2 separate regions of the Homo sapiens genome follow, and region 2 is linked to region 1. The links are contacts of gene promoters, found by promoter capture Hi-C in blood cells and fetal thymus (Javierre and others, 2016). All regions are on one chromosome and are shown on one strand. The core of a region is centred on a gene start or on the middle of the fragment in contact, and the rest is flanking DNA. Distances in the headings are between cores, read along the strand shown. Region 1 holds the start of KDM4B (lysine demethylase 4B). Region 2 has its middle 15 kb from the start of TINCR.

The links. The method cuts DNA at HindIII sites, captures the fragments that hold promoters and counts their contacts. A CHiCAGO score of 5 or more calls a contact.
Region 2: a contact is called between a fragment that was not itself captured here and the fragment with the promoter of KDM4B in region 1, in 1 of 17 cell types (endothelial precursors). The highest score is 5.3, in endothelial precursors.

Annotation. Positions count from the first base shown.
Region 1 is chr19:4,965,332-4,971,306 of GRCh38, reverse strand. KDM4B (lysine demethylase 4B) reads right to left here and starts at 2,194. Exons shown (of 23, transcript NM_015015.3): 1 at 2,077-2,194. RefSeq lists an enhancer at 705-754 and silencers at 2,021-2,320, 2,631-2,730. The HindIII fragment of the contact is 5,018 bases long and covers 1-3,939 here.
Region 2 is chr19:5,579,602-5,585,576 of GRCh38, reverse strand. No RefSeq gene overlaps it. Among named protein-coding and RNA genes, the nearest start is that of TINCR, 15 kb to the right of the region's middle. The HindIII fragment of the contact is 3,636 bases long and covers 1,515-5,150 here.

The sequences.
Region 1 (5,975 bases), core at 945-3,444:
GACAGGGCAGGAGGCTGAGGAAGGGTCTCTTCCACGAGACAGAAAAGTACAACAAAGGCCAGGCGGGGTGCTGTGCGGTGGCTGATCAGCTATACCTTTAAGCGCCAGCAGTTAACATCTTGTTAGCAGCCCCCTCCCCAAAGAGGAAAGGGTTAGAAAATGCGAGCAAACGGATTGTTACTAAGACATATATATTTCAGGTCTCAGCAACTAAACACACACGTGCACACGCAGGCACCCGCAGCTCCTGACACAGTAGACGCTTCCACCAAAACAGCCTGTACACAGACACCCGTCTGTGCGGCAGAATCTCCGTTACCCCCTTTTCCTCCCCAGCGGTGACCTCCTCTAGGCCAGGACAGTCTGACCCGTCCTGGTGTCGCCGGCTCAAGGAGGGGGAGCGCCCGGACCTGCCAGGTGTCCAATCAGACACACGGAGACGAGGCTGGCAAGTCCCAGAAATCCTCGGCTCAGACAGAAGTTGACTCTACCACGGCTTTACGCTCCGACCTTCAGGGTTTCAAAACATAAACTGCAAAGCGGAGAGAGGATGCCCACTGCTTCAGCAGGGGCTGCAGGAGAAGGCTGACCCCGTGTGTTGACAAACCCTCCTGGTGGCTCATAAGGAAGCTATTATTGGAGAATTAGGGGAGTCATTAGCTCCCATAACGGCAGTGATAAAAGCCCATAGGAGTCGTCTAATGAGCCTGCTTTAGGACTGGTGCTGTTTTTAGGAGCATTCTCCAGCCCGGGGACATTCTGATAAATGGCCATTGAGGCAGAGGACTGGGGCAGGGCACCGATCCCTTGAATTCAGTCCAGTATCCAGAGATCCCAAGACAGTGCAGGCACCCGGTGGGACCCAAAGGAACTTGCTGAATACACGCCCCAGCCAGAAACACATGGAAAAAGACGCTCTTCACATATGACAGGATCACTAGGCTCCACGGAGCTGAACCACCTTCTCACTAGTTTCACAACTCGGGGAACACTTCCTCACAGGGTGCTGGTAAATTATTAAAACAGAAGCATCCTCCCCCAAGCAAACAGATGGGATGCACCCAAAAGCAGTCCATGCCTCCACTGCCCCCAGGGGCGGAAAACATGCCCCTTAAAACCTTCCACCGTGCCCAGGTGGACAGAGTCCCCCGTCCTGCCTGATTGTCATGGCCACCACTGAGCGCAGACCTGGGCCCTGGCAGACCCCAGGTCAAGCAGATTTCAGAGCGAGTCCGTCCCCAGCTCCCAGGGGGATGTCCACGGGGGACACAGAAAAGGGGTCTCGGCGGAAGCAACTCCTCAATTCATTTCTCTAGAGCAGGGGCTTCGTTCGAGATGGCGATCAGGCTGGAAGGGGGAGGGACGGAGAGACTCGTGGAGGCTGCCGTTGCATAGCAAGATGATTTTTTTCTAAAATCCAGATTGCATATGCTTATGGCGGGGTGGGGGTTTCGGGTACGTACAGGGGGGCAAGTTTGGAAGCTACCAAGGCATAGCAGGTTGACCGGAGGTGGGGGCAGTGCAGGAGCAATGATAGGCATTTAGGGGGCATCCCTGGGTGTCCAGCTGGGGGGCTTCCCCTTAGCCCCCCTGGCGCCCAAAGGGCCAGAAACGCAGGCGGGGGTTACCCAGGGGCTGGGGTCTTTTTCCTTTTTCTTGCTTTCTTTCAAAAATAATAATAATAATAGGCCGAGGCTTGTCCCGGGTGATAAAAGGGCCCGGCCGGGGCCACCCACGCTGTCATCTTTTGTGCGGGGCGCCGGGGCCGTCTGTGCCCAGCCCCCGCGCGCCCCCGGCCCGGGAAGGGGCCCCCGCTCCCGCCCCTGGGCGCGCCCCGCCATTGTCCGGCCCCGCCGCCCCCGCCCGAAAACCAGCGGGCGCCCCCGGGCCGGGCGGTTAACGCCCCAACCGCCCCGCCGGCCCGGACAAAGCGCGAGGCCCGGCCCGAGCAGGCCGCGCCCGAGGCCTGGGCCTCGAGTCCCGGGCGCGCCCGCAGCCCCGAGCCGCGACGCGGGGGCGGCCATGGCGGCGGGGTCCGCGCTCGGACACGGCCGGGCGGCCTCCCCGTGGGCTCACCTGAGGCGGCGTGCGCGGCCCGGTCCGGGAGCAGCGGCGCGCTCTCCCCCGCCCTCGGCGTCGCACCCCCAGGCCCCGCTCGGGCCGGGCCCCGCTCGGTTGCTGGCGACCGAGCCCTCCGCAAGCGCTCGCGGGGGGGCTTATAAGGCCGCGCGCCAGCTCCGCCCCGACTGCCATTGGCTGCCGGATCCACGCCCGAGCGCCCATTGGCCGGAGCTGACAGCTCCGCCCCTCCCCTCCGCCGGGCCCATCAACACCGCACGGCCCGCCCACCGCGCGCCGCGATTGGGCGGGGACAAACGCCGGCCTCGCCTCTTCATTGGCAGACCGGCGGGGACACGCCGGCGCCCACCCACGTGCCCGCTGACCGGCTCTGTTCTCATTGGAGGGGGCGCACGCCAGCCAAGGCTGCCGCGACCAACCCGACGGCAGCTGGGCCTTGGATTGACAAGGGAGCCTCAGGGCCCGCCCGACGACCGCACAGAGAGGAGCCAGTATTGGCTTGAGGGGCCAGCCCGAGGCGCGGACAGGCTGGGGCAGGTGCCAATCACTGCCCGCAAGCTCCGGGCCCCGCCCTGGTTATCAGGCGGCGGCTGAGTACGTGAGACCCAGCACAGCATCAGCACCGGCCGGGAACGTGCAGGCTGGAGGTTCGAAACCCGTGGCCGGAATGTGGGCTTAGCGTTCCCCAATTTGCAAAGTGCCAAGCAAGGAGACATAGCGATCCGTTTTGCAAAGGAGGAGAACCGAGAACATAGGGTAAAGCAGCAAGAGCCTCCACCCCGCCACCGTAGGTCTATTCCCATCACAATCAACAAACCTTTGCCAAGGGGCAAGGCCTTCGGAATAGTTAGGGTCCCTCTCCCCGAGTTCCCTAAAATGTATGGGAGAGAATGAGCTTTGGTGCTTTCTGACCTGGATTCAAAGCTAAGCCGGGCCCCATGCCTCACTGTGGTTGACCTCCAGCAAAGTAACCTCGCTGAGTCTGTTTCCAACTGTGCAATGGATATGATGGTAGTGGCCACACCCCGTCTACCCGCCTCTTGAGAATGTTGCAAGGATTAAGTGGGATGAGGCACGGAGAAAGATTTGACCCTGTGACTTCACAAAATGAGCATTCATTGTGTACTGGACCACGCAGGGGTGTGAGGCATGCCCCCATTTGGAGTGGCAGGAGTGTAAATTGGGCAATTTGACATTTTCTAATAACATTCTAAGTGCATCCACCACCCGATAACCCAGCCAGCAGTTCTTCCTGGAGGTGATGTACCCAGAAAAAAGGTCTGGAGCTTACACAATTCAAGAATGCCGGCGGCAGGGCTGTCTGCAACTGTTTCCAATGTTTTGCACTAACTATCCATCAGTGGGGGATTAGAGAAGTAACTTAATAGCAATCAGTACTCTGGAATACTTACTATGTAGCAATTGAAAAGGAGGCCAGGCCCGGTGCTGTGGCTCGGGCGACTCACACCTGTAATCCCAGCACTTTGGGAGGTCGAGTCGGGTGGAACACCTGAGGTCCAGAGTTCGAGACCAGCCTGGCCAACATGGCAAAAACCTGTCTCTATTAACAAATACAAAATTAGCCAGGCATGGTGGCGCATGCCTGTAATCCCAGCTACTCCAGAGGCTGAGGCGGAGGTTGCAGTGAGTCGAGATCACTGCACTTCAGCCTGGGCAACAGGGTGAGACTCTGTCTCAAAAAAGGAAAGAAAAGAAAAAAGAGAAGGCCGATCTGTTTGCAAACATGAAATATCTCCCAACCGCTGAGCTAGGGACAGTGGTCCAGAATCCTGTACTCAATAAAATAAATATGGAAACACACACAGAAACCGGTATCATGAGGTTAAGAGCACACAAGCTTGTCAATGCACAGAAAAAGGTACTCCTAAACTGAAGAAACGAACTTAATCCTTGGGGAGAGAAGGAAAGCTGCACACTGGTAAAAAGAGAAGTCAAAGGAGAATTTAAGAAGCTCTGGGTGTTTTAAATTCTTATGGGACCATATTCATATATTCCACATGGAGTTGAGATTTAATTTCAGGTCATGCCTGGAATCGCAGCACTTTGGGAGGCTGAGATGGGCAGATCACTTGAGCCCACGAGTTTGAGAACAGGCTGGGCAATATAGCAAGACTCCGTCTCTACCAAAAAAATTACAAAAGTTGGGCGTGGTGACACGCGCCTATAATCCCAGCTATTCGGGGGCTGAGGCGAAAGGATCACCTGAGCCCGGGGAAGTGGAGGCTGCAGTGAGCCGTTGATTACACCACTGCACTCCAGCCTGGGTGACAGAGTCAAACCCCGTCTCAAAATAAAAAGTAAAAACAAAATTTAAAAACAGGCTGTTGCCCAGGCTGGGTGTAGTGACTCACATCTGTAATCCCAGCCCTTTGGGAGGCCAAGGTGGGAGGATCACTTGATCCCAGGAGTTTCAGGCCAGCCTGGGCAACAGAGCGAGACCTCTTCTCTACTAAAAATAAAAACCGAGTTGATTGTGCGGGCACATGCCTGTGGTCCCAGCTACACTGGGGGCTGAGGGAGGATCACTTGAGCCCAGGAGGTCGAGGCTGCAGTGAGCCATGATCACACCACTGCACTCCTGGGCAACAGAATGAGACCCTGTCTCAAAAAAAAAAAAAAGTGCAATCATGAAGGGAAAGAGTCCCCACCCCACGTACCACATACATAGGGCTTTTTGTTCTACTTCCAAGTATATTCTCTGAGACAGTGGGGGGTGTTTAGATTTCACAGACAATATAAATGTTTTTAACCGAGGAACCCAAATGGGTTCTCCACTTTATTTTGCTTAGACAAAGTTTTCATGCCATCTCTTATGAGAAAAACTTAACATGATCATAGAATCTAGACGGTAGGTCTGAGGGTTCACCATCCGATTCTTTCCAAATCCGATTCTTTCCAAGTTTTGGAAACTCTTCATATTAAAATGTTAAAAACACACTAGAATTGCTGTCAGATAAGTAGAAGTCCTCATCCTCCAAAAAGGAAGGAAATGCTCTTTAGAATATTTTAATGGGCAGATTAATTTAGGCAACACTCACCTAATTGCCCTGGTTTTCTTCCATCCTTTGCAGTCAGATGCAAATCTCACAAAGGACTGGGGCAGGGAATGCTTGGGGACCTCCCCCTAAACAAGACCAGGAGGCTTGGCTTGGCTTTCAGACGTCAAGGAACCCCCAGTTAGCAGGCCCAATGCTCAATTTCTGACTGGTCTCCCTCAATCTTTCTAGACAGGCAAGGTGTGGAGCGCAAAAATGTTCAATGCTTCAATAGATGCCCCTCCCCTTATGGGTTGGTCTGCTGCATTAACAAATTGAAATGGGAGGCCAGGTGCAGTGGCTGTAATCCCAGCACTTTGGGAGGCTGAGGCAGGAGGATCACTTGAGCCCGGGAGTTCGAGACCAGCCTGGCCAACATGGCAAAAACCCCATCTCTACAAAAAGTACAAAAATCGGCCAGGTGTGGTGGTGCATGCCTGTAGTCCCATCTACTAGAGAGGGGAAGCCCGAGAATTGCTTGAATCCAGGAGGAGGCAGCTGCAGTGAGCTGAGATTACACCACTGCACTCCAGCCTGGGCCATGGAGACTATCTCCAAAAAAAAAAAAAAGCAGTTGGGGACTGGGCTTCATGGCTCACGCCTGTAATCCCAGCACTTTGGGAGACCGAAGAGGGCAGATCACTTGAGGTCAGGAGTTCGAGACCAGCCTGGCCAACATGGTGAAACACCGTCTCTACCAAAAATACAAAAAAATTAGCCAGGCATGGTGGTGCACACCTGTAATCCCAACTACTCCGGAGGCTGAGGCAGGAGAATCACTTGAACCCAGGAGGTGGAGGTTGTAGAGCCGAGATTATGCCACTGCACTCCAGCCTGGGC
Region 2 (5,975 bases), core at 2,083-4,582, 610 kb before region 1:
TGCCAGGCTGCTCTATGGGAGCTGGAAAGGGAACCAGTCCCACTGGACATCCTATGGGGGCAGAAGAGCCCTGCCCTTTCCAACGAGCCGGGCCTGGAACCAGCTCTGTTCCACGCAGAAACAAAGCACTCGAGTTACCAGGACGGCTGTCACAAAGCACCATAGACTGCCTAAGGAAGCTCATTGGCTCTCAGTTCTTGAGGCCAGGAGTCTGAGATCTGGGTGTGGGCAGGGCTGTGTCCTTCCCAGGCTCCGTCCTGAGCCTCCTGGCTTCTGACAGCTGCCGAGCACCTCTGGGCATTCCTTGGTTTGTAAAAACATTGCCCAGTCTCGGCCTCCATCCTCATCATGTGGCCTTCTTCCTGCAAGCGTGTTTGTGTCCTGGTTCCCCCCCCCCTCCTTTTTTTTTTTTTTTTTTTTTGGAGACAGTCTCACTCTGTCACTGCTGGAGTGCAGTGGCGAGGATCTGGGCTCACTGCAGCCTCCGCTTCCCAGGTTCAAACGATTCTCCTGCCTCAGCCTCCCAAGTAGCTGGGATTACAGGTGCCTGCCACCACGCCCAGCTAATTTTTGTATTTTTAGTAGAGACGGGGTTCCACCATGTTGGCCAGGCTGGTCTCGAACTCCTGACCTCAAGTGATCCGCCCACCTCGGCCTCCCAAAGTGCTGGGATTACAGGCGTGAGCCACCGCGCCTGGCCTGTTTCTTTAATAATTGAGCATAGGTACGTTATATTAACTCAACTTTTATTTCAAGAGAGAAAAGGTGGGTGGAACAAAATACGTGTTATGAAAAGGAGATGCTGATGGACGTGTGGGTGGTTCCCCCCTTTGGGCAGTTGTGTGTGAATCACGCTGCCGTGAGCATTTATGGATATGTATGTGTTTGAACACCTGTTTTCCATTCTCCTGTGTATATACCTGGGACTGGGATTGCTGGGTCCTATGCTGACTTTGTAACTCCCTGTGTTTTATTTCTGGAAGTATAGCCAGACTTTTCCACAGTGGTGGTACCATTATACATTCCTACTAGCACTATATGAAGATTCCAATTCCCCTTTTTTACGAGACAGGGTCTCGCTGTGTCTCCCAGGCTGGAATGCAGTGGCGCGATCATAGCTCACTGCAGCCTCGAACTCCAGAGCTCAAGCCATCCTCCCACCTTGGCCTCCCAAGTTGCTAGGTCTACAGGCATGAGCCACCATGCCTGGCCTTGGTATACCATTTGGTGGTGAATTTTGTTATGTATCATTTCCCATCGTTTTAAAGACATTTTTAAAGGGGAGGGGGAGCTGTGGGGGCATCACGGGAATGAGAGCCACTGGGGCAGAAACAGGGAGCTTCTTGAGAGCAAGTTTAGGAGCCAACTGCCTGGCACCCAGCCTTCTCACTACCTGCCTGCCCACGGGCAGGTCATTACTGTCTGCTTTAGCTGCTTTAACTGGAAGGAGGGAGTAATCATTGTAGTTGCCATATGGGATCTTTACAAAGATTAGTTAATCCACATAAAAAGCTTGGCATACAGTAAATGCTTAATACATGTTGGCAGGCCCTGGGGAGCCCTACAGGAATAGAGCCTCGGGTGCTCATGTTTCACAGGGGCCCTGGCGAAATGCAATGCCAGAGGTCTGGAGGGGGTCCCGGTGAGGAAATGACCAGCTCCAGCCATACAGAAAGAAAACAGCAGAATCAGAATTAAGACCTTATGGCCTGGCGCGGTGGCTCATGCCTCGAATCCCAGCACTTCTGGAGGCTGAGGCGGGTAGGTCACCTGTGGTCAGGAGTTCGAGACCAGCCTGGCCAACATGGGGAAACCCCCATTTCTACTAAAAATACAAATATTAGCCAGGCATGGTGGTGGGTGCCTGTAATCCCAGCTACTCGAGAGGCTGAGGCAGGAGACTTCTTGAACCCTGGGGGGCGGAGGTTGCAGTGAGCCGAGATCGCGCCACTTCACTCTAGTCCCGGGTGAAAGAGCGAAACTCCATCTCAAAAAAAAAAAAAAAAGAAAGAAAAAGTAGAATTAAGACCTTACGAAATGTCTCCACAGCTACAAAATGTGTCAACTTCACCAATTGCTAAATTTTGTATTCATAAAGATTTCATTACATTTCAAAACAGCTCCTAGGTTAGATTTTCTTATTCCCAAGGAACTCCCAAGCCTCCACGATGATTGCCAGTCTCAAATTGCATGCATGACTCCTAGTCACATAATTTCAAAGGCAAAGTTAGAACAGGGCCTTTTGATTCCAAAAAAACCCAACAACCATAAAGTCGACGTTTAACGGGGATGCCGTGCCTTTTAACAGGTTTGCCGGATTGAGGGGCAGGGCTTCCTTGAGTCCCAGTGACCCACGGGAGAGGTGAGGCTGTTCCTACCTGGTCATACGATGGTGACAAATCAGGGTTCGGATTCTGCTCTCACTGCTGGGTGGGTTCAGACCTCAGCCCTTCAGCCATTTCTTTGGTCAGCTGGGTGGACTAGGAGAGCTTTTCTCTTTGTTTTTTGAGATGAAGCCGTGCCGTGTTGCCCAGGCTGGAGTGCAGTGGCACAATCTTGGCTCACTGCAACCTCCGCTTCCCGGGTTCAAGCGATTCTCCTGCTTCAGCCTCCCAAGTAGCTGGGATTACAGGTACCTGCCACCATGCCTGGCTAGTTTTTGTATTTTTAGTAGAGATGGGGTTTCCCCATGTTGGCCAAGCTGGTCTCAAACTCGTGGCCTCGGGTGATTCTCCTGCCTTGGCTTCCCAAAGTGCTGGGATGACAGGCATGAGCCACCACACCCAGCCACGAATTCCTTCACCTTAATCACATCTGCAAGGTCCCTTTGTCTTGGAGACCAATGTGTTCATAGGTCCCAGGGATTAGGACGTGGGCATCCTTGTCCGTCACCCTGGTGTACAACAGAATCCACTTTGGGAAGCACCTGATGTGCTTACCAGTCAAGCAAGTTAGACATCTCTAGTCCCCCTGGCCAGCCACCAATTTATATGAGGACACCTACGGACGCCACACAACATCACCAAACCCAGACATAGCCCAGTGCAGCTCCCTGGGAAACTGGAGTCAATTCCTGGGAAAGTCAAGCGCAGAAGAAGGTTCTGAGCCCGAGGGAGGCTGAGACCCGCCCAGAGGTAGCGAGCCATGGAGCTGAGGCTGCAGCCCGAGGTCCCTTCTCCTCAGCCTCCCCGGTTGTCAGGGCACCCCGTGCCGCGGTCACACGGTGGTGAAGGGATAGGTGTTTGGGGCACCAGTGAGCAAGCTGCGTACGTGAGTGTGTACATAATTTTGCACATGCGCTTGGCCTTTAGAGTTGACCCCAAGGATAACTCTACATGTCCTACAGTGCTTCCAGAGACAGCAATACTGGGCCAGAAACTGCCCCTAAATTACTCCCGGGAGCACCAAGAGCCGCTTCTCCGTACTCCTCAAATCCTCGTGAGATGCAGCTGCCCTGTGTTTGCCTCCACCTGCAAATATTGACACAGCAGCTGCCGGGTTCAGTGGAGCATAAGGTACTGAGGACCCGAGACATTGCCCTCCTGGGAGAGCTTCCTGGGTGGTCTGTGAACCAGGGCCCGGTGGCTCATGCCTGTAATCCCAGCACTTTGGGAGGCTGAGGTGGGAGGATCACTGGAGCCCAGGAGTTTGAGAGCAGTGTGGGTAATGTAGCAAGACCCCATCTGTACAAAAAAATAAAATTGGCTGGGCTGCTGGTGTACACCTGTAGTCCCAGCTACCCACGAGGCTGAGGAGGGAGGATCACTTGGGCTCAGGAGGCAGAGGCTGCAGTGAGCTGTGATCACACCACTGCACTCCAGCCTGGGCGACAGGGCTGTCTCAAAAAAGAACAGCGTGGCACTGGCTGTGACTGAGGAGACCAGCCACACATGCCCAGCCCCTTCAAATTCTGCCCCCTGCAAGAGGTCTCCTCTGACCACTGGATCAGCAGCGCCTCATCACCCTCTGCCTTGTCACACCTGCCTGTCCTCGTGGCTCTGACCACTCGCTAAAGCATTGTTTATTGTCGGCACTCTCCACCACATAAGCATCGTTGGGGCAGGCATCTGCATCTCCCCAGTGCACAGCCTTTTAAAATACAGGTTTTGGCCGGGCGCGGTGGCTCATGCCTGTAATCCCAGCACTTTGGGAGGGTGAGGCGGGTGGATCACCTGAGCTCAGGAGTTTGAGACCAGCCTGGCCAACATGGTGAAACCCCGTCTGTACTAAAAACACAAAAATTAGCCGGGTGTGGTGGTAGGCACCTGTAGTCCCAGCTACTCAGGAGACTGAGACAGGAGAATCGCCTGAACACAGAGATGGAGGGTGCAGTGAGCTGAGGTCGCACCACTGCACTCCAGCCTGTGTGACAGAGCGAGACTCCATAAAAAAAAAAAAAAAAAGCAGGTTTTGGCCGGGCACGGTAGCTCACGCCAGTAGTCCCCGCACTTTGGGAGGGTGAGGTGGGCAGATCACCTGAGGTCAGGAGTTCGAGACCAGCCTGGCCAACATGGTGAAACCCCATCTCTACTAAAAATATGAAAATTAGCTGGGCATGGTGGCGCATGCCTGTAATCCCAGCTACTAAGGAGGCTGAGGCAGGAGAATCGCTTGAACCTGGGAGGCGGAGGTTGCAGTGAGTCAAGATCGCACCACTGCACTCCAGCCTGGGAGACAGAATGAGACTCCATCTCAAAAAAATAAAAAAGTGCTTTATGCAATATCTGGCATACAGTAGGTGCATAGCAAGTGGTTGTGGTTCTTTGAATTTTTTTAGCAAGAGACAGGTCTAAACCAGGGCTTCCCACTCCTTGCCCAACAGAAATCCCTCCCCTCTGCCCTTTAAGAAATTAAGTGTGGCCCATAGACTTAGGGAAGGGGAATCGCTGGGCTCGATTTCTACTGCAGCTGTAATCTATAATGTTGCATTACAGTTTTTAAAACAAGAGGCCCCTCTTTGGCCTCTCAAATGCTGCACGCTGTGGAGTTAAGTGCTGGAAGCCACTGATGGTGTCTCTCGGCTTCTTCCAGTCTTGGAATCATAGCCACCTCGTGCCAACGAGCTGTGAAACTACTGGGGTGCCCCGTGTACCCAGCCACAGAAAACGCATATCAGGCCTCGCGGGGAGCTCGTAAAAGGCACTGAAGCTTCCCCTGCGTGTATGCTGCCGGCCACAGCAGACCAAATATTTACAGACTCAGCTGAAATGAAACCCAGCAGGGTGGATCTCACAGGTGGTCCGGGAAAGGTCCCCATTGCTGGGGAAACAGTGCACAGAGCAGGAAGGAAACCCACTTGGCCAAGGCCCCCTGCCAAGCAAGTCAAGATGAAATCCAGGCTCAAGAGCTGGGCTCTGAGTCCTTTGTTTTCTTGCTTATTTAGCTTAGCAAATGCTTCTTGGGTACTTACTGCGAGCAGGGCTCCATGGCAGAGATGCAGCCATGACTGAGACAAGCCTGCAGGTTCCTGTTGTCTGGGGGTGGAATGAGACTGGCTTCTTGGAGGAGGGGACTGGACAGACCTAAGCCATGAGGAGTGAAGGAGCCCCAGAAGGGCTTTCCAGAAGAAGAAACAGGGTGTGCAGAAGCCCCCAGGAAGGAAAGGACACGCCTCCCACCCTTTTTTTTGTTTTTCGGAGCGATGGGATCTTGCTCTGTTGCCCAGGCTGGAGTACAACGGCGCGATCATAGCTCACTGCAACCTTGAGCTCCTGGAAGTAATCCTCATGCCCCAGCCTCCTGAGCAGCTGGGACTCCAGGCATGAGCCATGCACCTGGCCTAGCACCTTTGAGCAACAGAGCAGGCAGGAACATGGGGACCTGGGGCCGCAGTGGCTGATCAGGGATGGGACCACCAGCCTGTAGGGTTTCTTCTTCTTGAGAAGAAGAGAGCCAGCCCTCCTCGAAGGGTTTGAGGGTAACACTCAAATGTCTCTCTTCAGGCCTTTCCTTGCTTGAGATCCAAATCCTCACTG